2 separate regions of the Homo sapiens genome follow, and region 1 is linked to region 2. The links are contacts of gene promoters, found by promoter capture Hi-C in human tissues and cell types (Jung and others, 2019). All regions are on one chromosome and are shown on one strand. Each heading gives the region's core, a stretch centred on a gene start or on the middle of the fragment in contact. The rest is flanking DNA. Distances are from core to core; before and after follow the strand shown.

What was found. Contacts are between HindIII fragments. The study calls those that stand out against the background at their distance.
Region 1: a fragment that was not itself captured here is called in contact with the fragment with the promoter of SLC1A5 in region 2 in 1 of the 25 tissues and cell types used here (H1 embryonic stem cells).

Annotation. Positions count from the first base shown.
Region 1 is chr19:47,295,744-47,299,671 of GRCh38, forward strand. No RefSeq gene overlaps it. Among named protein-coding and RNA genes, the nearest start is that of C5AR1, 12 kb to the right of the region's middle. The HindIII fragment of the contact is 3,838 bases long and covers 1-3,614 here.
Region 2 is chr19:46,786,669-46,790,607 of GRCh38, forward strand. SLC1A5 (solute carrier family 1 member 5) reads right to left here and starts at 1,926. Exons shown (of 8, transcript NM_005628.3): 1 at 732-1,926. The coding sequence starts at 1,297. RefSeq lists silencers at 1,004-1,053, 1,064-1,113, 2,084-2,243 and enhancers at 1,594-2,195, 1,844-2,138. The HindIII fragment of the contact is 6,368 bases long and covers 1-2,634 here.

The DNA of each region.
Region 1 (3,928 bases), core at 446-2,945, 510 kb after region 2:
CTGTAAACCCAGCTACTCGGGAGGCTGAGGCAGGAGAGTCGTTTGAATCCGGGAGGTGGAGGCTGCAGTGAGCCGAGATTGCACCACTGCACTCCAGCCTGGGTGACAGAGCAAGACTCTGTCTAGAAAAAAAAAAAAAGAATACAAATTGCTTATTTCCAAGAAAACATCTCTGCCGTGCTTTCAGATTTTCAGCTGATTACAAATCACGCACCCATGATCAAATCCAACAAGAGATAGACCCCCTGCCATAAAGGAAGAAGGCTGGCTGGGTGTAGTGGCTTATGACTGCAATCCCAGTGCTTTGGGAGGCTGAGGCAGGAGGATCTCCGAGGCCAGCAGTTCAAGACCAGCTTGAGCAATATAGCGAGACACCCCCTCATCTCTCCAATAATAATAAAAAAAATCAGCCAGGCATGGTGGCGCGTGCCTGTAGTCCAATCTACTCGGGAGGCTGAAGTGGGAAGATTGCTCCAGGAGTTCGAGTCTGCAGTTGGCTGAGATCTCGCCACTGCACTCCAGCCAGGGCGGTAGAGCCAAACCTTGTCTCAATAAAATCTCCACAAGGGGGCGCCATCTACATGATGATAGCAGGAAGGGAACCGGCCAGTGTCTCCTGGTGACGTACTCATTCAGCGCTTCTTATACCTTAAAGGTGACCAGGAATCACCTGGGGGTCTTGTTAAAATGCAGGTTCTAATTCAGCAGGGCTGGAGCAGGACCACAGCTCTTGCATTTCCCTCCCTCCTTCCTTCCTTCCTCCCTCCCTCCCTCCCTTCCTCCCTCCCTCCCTCCCTTCCTTCTCTTTCTTCTTTCTTTCCTTCTCTCTCTCTCTCTCTTTTTTTTTTTTTGACAGAGTCTCGCTCTGTCACCCAAGCTGGAGTGCAGTGGTGTGATCTCGGCTCACTGCAGCCTTCACCTCCTGGGTTCAAGCAGTTCTCCTGCCTCAGCCTTCCGAGTAGATGGTGTCAGGCCTCTGAGCCCAAGCTAAGCCATCATATCCCCTGTGATCTGCACGTATACATCCAGATGGCCTGAAGTAACTGAATAATCACAAAAGGAGTGAAAATGGCCTGTTCCTGCCTTAACTGATGACATTCCACCACAAAAGAAGTGAAAATGGCCAGTCCCTGCCTTAACTGATGACATTACCTCGTGAAATTCCTTCTCCTGGCTCATCCTGGCTCAAAAGCTCCACCACTGAGCACCTTGTGACCCCCCACCCCTGCCAGCCAGAGAACAACCCCCTCTGACTGTAATTTTCCTTTACCTACCCAAATCCTATAAAACAGCTCCACCCCATCTCCCTTCGCTGACTCCCTTTTTGGACTCAGCCCTCCTGCACCCAGGTGATTAAAAGCTTTATTGCTCACACAAAGCCTGTTTGGTGGTGTCTTCACACGGACGCGAGTGAAAGATGGGATCACAGGCCCCCACCACCACGCCCAGGTAATTTTTTGTATTTTTAGTAGAGACAGGGTTTCACTATGTTGGTCAGGCTGGTCTCGAACTCCTGGCCTCAGGCAGTCTACCTGCCTTGGCCTCCCAAAGTGCTGGATTACAGGCGTGAGCCACTGCGCCCCGCCAAGATCTTGCATTTCTAACATGTCCAGGAAGCTTGATGATGCGGATCGAGAAAACACACTTTGGTAGCGAGGGGGCTATGGCCTTAAAGTTGGGTAACTGAAGGGGACTCCCCACCTGGACCCGTTTGCCCTGTTCCTCAAGCCAGCTCAGGTTAGCATCTTCATTATTTTATTATTTGTATTTTTTTTGAGACAGAGTCTTGTTTTGTCACTCAGGCTGCAGTACAGTGGTGCAATCTCTGCTCACTGCAGCCTCCACCTCCCGGGTTGAAGTGATTCTCCTGCCTCAGCTTCCTAAATAGCTGGGATTACAGGCACCCGCCACCACTCCCAGCTAATTTTTGTATTTTTAGTAAAGATGGAGTTTAGCCATGTTGGCCAGGCTGGTCTTGAACTCCTGACCTCAAGTGATCTCCCCACCTCAGCCTCCCAAAGTGTTGAGATTACAAGCATGTGCCACCATGCCCATCTAATTTTTTTTTTTTTTTTTTTTTTTTTTTTTTTTTTGAGACGGAGTCTTGCTCTGTTGCCCAGGCTAGAGTGCAGAGGTGCGATCTTAGCTCACTGCAAGTTCTGCCTCCCAGGTTCATGCCATTCTCCTGCCTCAGCCTCCCGAGTAGCTGGGACTACAGGCACCCGCCACCATGCCCGGCTAATTTTTTTGTATTTTTAGTAGAGATGGGGTTTCACCATATGAGCCGGGATGGTCTCGATCTCCTGACCTCGTGATCTGCCCGCCTCAGCCTCCCAAAGTGCTGGGATTAAGGTGTGAGCCACTGTGCCCGGCCAATTTTTGTATTTTTAATCAAGACAGGGTTTCGCCATGTTGGCCAGGCTGGTCTCAAACTCAAGGCCTCGAGCAATCCTCCTACCTCGGCCTTCAAAGTGCTGAGATTATAGGTGTGAGTCCCTGCATCTGGTTCTAACTGTATTTTTGTACCCATTAACCCATTTTTCTTTATGTCTCCCTCCCACCTTCCCTTCTCAGCCTCAGGTAAGCAACATTCGACTCGAATCACACTCTTAAACACTTACAACTTTAGAATTAGAGAATTCTAGAATTTTCAGTGTAATAATATCAGCTTCCATTCTGTATTTTTTTTTTTTTTTAGTTGTTTTAGAGACACAGTCTTACTCTGTTGCCCAGGCTGGAGTGCAGTGGCACAATCACAGCTCACTGCAGCTGGTCGGATAACTCCTGGGCTCAAGTGATTCTTCCACCTCGGCCTCCTGAGTAGCTGGGACTACAGGTGTGTGCTACTGTGCCTGGCTAATTTAAAACAATTTTTTTTTTGAGACGGAGTCTTGCTCTGTTGCCCAGGTTGGAGTGCAGCGGTGCAATCTCGGCTCACTGCAAGCTCCGCCTCCTGGATTCATGCCATTCTCCTGCCTCAGCCTCCCGAGTAGCTGGGACCACAGGCGCCCACCACCACGCCCGGCTAATTTTTTGTATTTTTAGTAGAGACGGGGTTTCACCGCGTTAGTCAGGATGGTCTCGATCTTCTGACCTCATGATCCGCCCACCTCGGCCTCCCAAAGTGTTGGGATTATAGGCGTGAGCCACCGCGCCTGGCCAAAAACAATTTTTTTCTGTAGAAATGGGGTCATGCTATGTTGGCCTGGCTGGTCTCGAACTCCTGAGCTCAGTGATCCTCCCACCTCAGCCTCCCAAAGTGCTGGGATTACAGGTATGAACCACCACGCCTGGCCTCCATTCTGCATTCTGTGAGCTTGCACGTCTCATCTCCACCTACTTTGTTGGTTATGAAGGCTTAGAAGAGCCCCTGGTCCTGAGCAAGCACTATGATTATTACTATTATTTTAAAATTATTATTATTATTTTTGAGATGGAGTTTCGCTCTGTTCGCCCAGGCTGGAGTGCAATGGCGACATCTCGGCTCATTGCAACCTCTGCCTCCTGGGCTCAAGTGATTCGCCTGCCCCAGCCTCCCCAGTAGCTGGGATTACAGGTGCGTGACACCATGCTTGGCTGATTTGTGTATTTTATTTATTTATTTATTTTGAGACGGAGTCTTGCTCTGTCGCCCAGGCTGGAGTGCAGTGGCATGATCTTGACTCACTGCAACCTCCGCCTCCCAGGTTCAAGCAATTCTCCTGCCTCATCCTCCCGAGTAGCTATGATTATAGGCACATGCCGCCACGCTTGGCTAATTTTTGTATTTTCAGTACAGATGGGGTTTTACCATGTTGGACAGGCTGGTCTCGAACTCCTGACCTCGTGATCTGCCTGCCTTGGCCTCCCAAAGTGCTGGGATTACAGGCGAGTGACATCATGCCTGGCTAAATTGTGTATTTTATTTATTTATTTTTTTTGAGATGGA
Region 2 (3,939 bases), core at 676-3,175:
TCCTCAAAGTGGGGGAGGCCATTCTTGGGGGCGCGGGGCAGAGGCCAGGAGAAGGAAAAGAATCTGCTCCCCTTTCTAACTGGTCCTCTTCTGGGCTGCCTGCTAGGGGGTGGCCCAGACAGAGGAGGAAACGGGAGGGAAAGGCAGGGGTGGCAGGGCTGATCTAAAAGATAAAGGGGAAGCGGCCAGACCCCAGCTGAAATGGGCGGGAAGCGGAGGCCAAAAACAGAGCCTGGTTATGTCCGAGTGACACGTGGTGTGGGGGTGCCCCAGGGCTGGGAAGAGGGCCTGGTGGGAGTTACTCAGATCTCAGATCCTCCAGGGGCTCCTTACCCAAACTCTCCAACCCTGGCCCCAAATTATATCTAGAAGCCCCATCTTGGGGCCCTTGACCACGCAAAGATTCCCCCCGCAAAAGTTCCTCCTGGGGTCCCCTCCCCTCAGTGTCTTTCTCCCCTAGGCAGACCCTCCTATGTCTCCCCAAATCACTTTCTTCTCCCTCTATAAGACCCCACTTATGTACCCAGGCCCCCAGATTTAGAAACCCCTTCCCCAGGAGACTAGACTCACACTCCCGAGGGCTGGAGCCTCCCCTCAATATCCTGTCGAGTTTTCCTAAGACTCTAGAGGGAAGTCTCTGCTCCAGGGGCCCCAAAGCCCCGTCCTGTCCACGTGACCACTCCCGCCATCCGTAACACTCTTCCCCACCTCCCGGGGGAGCGGGAGCTGACCTCGCAAGATCCAGGAACGAATCGAGCACCTCCTTGCTGGGGGCATTTTCGGCACTGCCCGCGGCTCCCACGGAGGCGTTGATGGCGGCGGAGGCGGCGCCCGGCTGCAGAGCCAGCGCCAAGCCCACTCCGAGCGCCGACGCCAGCAGCGTGGTGACCAGGAAAAAGAGCAGCGCCCAGGCGCCCAGACGGCCGAGCGCGCCGGGGTCCAGGCTGGCGGCGCCGCCGATCAAGCTGCACACCACCAGCGGCAAGATGATCATCCGCAGCAGACGCAGCAGCAGCTCGCCCGGGAAGACGAAGGCGCTCAAGCGCTCCGGGCCCAACGCCAGCGCACCCCCGGCCCCCGACACCCCCAGTCCCAGCGCCACGCCGGCCACCACGGCCACCACTGTCAGCAGCACAAGCAGGTTGGCTCGAAGGCAGCGGCGCACCTGGTCCCGGGAACCGCAGTAGCCGCCTGCTGCCGCGCCTTGGTCCTCGATGGAGGCCAGCGCCAGGCCCCCGTTGGCGGTGGGCTCCGCCGCTGCGAGCCCCTTGGAGTCTCGAGGAGGATCGGCCACCATGATGGGAAGCACCGGGGTTTCTTAGCGCCTGGAAGCTGGCTGGGAGCGCTTGGGCTCCTTCCCAGGACCCGACGTTCCTAGGACTGAGTTGAGTAACAGCACCTGGAGACTGGAACTTTGGAGGGCTCCTTAGAGTTGTGAGTTCACAGCACTGAAGTTCCTTGGCTCTTGGAAGCTGGAGTGTTTAAATTCCCCAGGCTGGGCGCTGAGGCTTCTCTGCTCTGCCCCGTGTGCCAGATGTCCGAAAGCTGGGAGTTCGGAGCGCCCGGGTTCCTTGGCCCTAGGAGCTGGGAATACGAGAGTTTCTCTGGGTGGGACGTGGGGCCCTTGGCTCCAGGAGGTTGAGTGCCCCCAGATGGCGGAGGTCTGCAGGAGGCTAGGTTCTGGTGGCGCAGATCCCGGACGCCTGGATCCGGGAGGCGGGGACCCGGGCTGCCTGGGTCTTGGACACTGAGGGCTGGGATGCCAGAATCTGGGGGCCGGGAAGCGGACCTCCGGAAACAGGGGACCCAGGCTCTTAGGTCCGGGAGGGTGGGATGCGGGCCCCTGTGTACGGAAGGCGGTGGTCTGGTGTCCGGGAGTAGCGGTTACCAGCCAGAGAAAGCCTCCCGGGCGTGCCGCGTGGCTCTGAGCCCGTTTAGCGGAAGCTGCCAGGGATAAGGGTAGGGGGCGGGGCTTGAGAAGGCGGGGACCGACCCTCGGGCGCCGATTGGCTGCAGAGCGTTCGGAGACTGGACGAGTAGGGGCGGGGCTGATACCCGAGATGGGCCAGGTCCCCCATAGAAGGCAGATTAATAATACCCATCTCCAGGAGCCGGGCCCAGAGACGACGGGGCGGGGCCAGGAAGGGGCGGGGCCTTGGGAGGGTGCTGTTTCCCGCCAAAGGAACTGGGTTGTGGGTTGGAGCCCTTAAACCACAGGGGTTCGTTCCCTGGTGCGAGGGTCGCTAGAAAGCTCCGGTGGTCCTCGGTGATTCATTTGCAACTCAACTCAGCTTTGGAACTCCTCAGCCCTGAGTTTGGTCTTTAGTCGCCTCTGAGAACTTTAATTCCTCGAATATAAAGTGCAGGTGTTAAAAGCTTTTGTCTCATATGATTGCTGTAAGATTTAAATAAAATTGATGTATTTATTTAGGGAGCCGTGGCTCAAGCCTGTAATCCCACCACTTTGGGAGGTGAAGCGGGCGGATCACTTGAGGTCAGGAGGTCGAGACCAGCCTGGCCAACATGGTGAAACCCGTCTCTACTAAAAATACAAAAATTACCTGGTGTGGTGGCACGTGCCTGTAATCCCAGCTACTGGAAGCCTGAGGCAGGAGAATCGCTTGAACCCCAGAGGCAGAGGAAGTCATTCACCTTGAGGCCACACCTAGAGAGGATGACACGTGCATGCCCACCTCCCAAGCCCCTAACCGCACCCACTCTGCTGCCTCCCCAAATTCTCTGTTAGTGGCCGTTTGGGAGGTTAACAATGAATTATGATTCCTTACTCCACCTGACAGTGTTGAAATCCTCATTCCTTTCCCATCTCTAGCCTGTTCTGTGACATTTCAGGCTTTCATGCTTGCTCAAAGATTGTAGTGGTAATGTCAGAAGCTTCCTCCTACAGCAGCTGTGAGGCCTCAGGTAATTTACAACCTCTATGAGGCTCAGTCTTCATATGTGTAAATGGGAATAATAATAAGTCATACCGCCTTGAGTGTTGCAAGGGTTCAAATGAGATAATACGGCCGGGCGCAGTGGCTCACGCCTGTTATCCCACCACTTTGGGAGTTGATGCGGGCAGATCACTTGAGGTCAGGAGTTCCAGACGAGCCTGGCCAACATGGCAAAACCCTGTCTCTGCTGAAAATGCAAAAATTAGCTGGGTGTGGTGGCACATGCCTGTAATCCCAGCTACTCAGGAGGCTGAGGCAGAAGAATTGCTTGAATCCAGGAGGCAGAGGTTGCGAAGAGCCGAGATCTCACCACTGCACTCCAGCCTGGGTGACAGAGTGAGACTCCACCTCAAAAAAAAAAAAGTTATTTATTTGTGCTTTAAAATTTTTTGTTCTTTCTCTCTTCTTTTGTTTCTAACAAAAATGCCCTTCAGAAGAAAGTCAAATACTACTGCTGCGATTGCTGTTATTGTTATTATTACTGAAGAACAAGCTGGATTCAGTGGCATGCACCTGTAGTCCCAGGTATTTGGGAGGCTAAAGCAGGAGGATCCCTTGAGGCCAGGAGTTCAAGGCTGCAGTGAGCTATGATCGTGCCCACATTTAGCCACTAGACTCCATCCGGGGCAACATAGTGAGACCTTATCTTTAAAAACATGAAAATAGGCCAGGCATGGTGGCTCATGTCTGTAATCTCAGCACTTTGGGAGGCCAGAGTGGGCAGATCATGAGGTCAGGAGATCGAGACCATCCTGGCCAATATGGTGAAACTCTGTCTCTACTAAAAATACAAAAATTAGTTGGGCATGGTGGCATGCACTTGTAGTCCCAGCTACTCAGGAGGCTGAGGCAGGAGAATCGCTTGAACCCGGGAGGTGGAGGTTGCAGTGAGCCAAGATCACACCTCTGCACTCCAGCCTAGTGACAGAGTGAGACTCCGTCTCAAAATAAATAAATAAATATTTTAAAAAATTTTTCGGCCGGG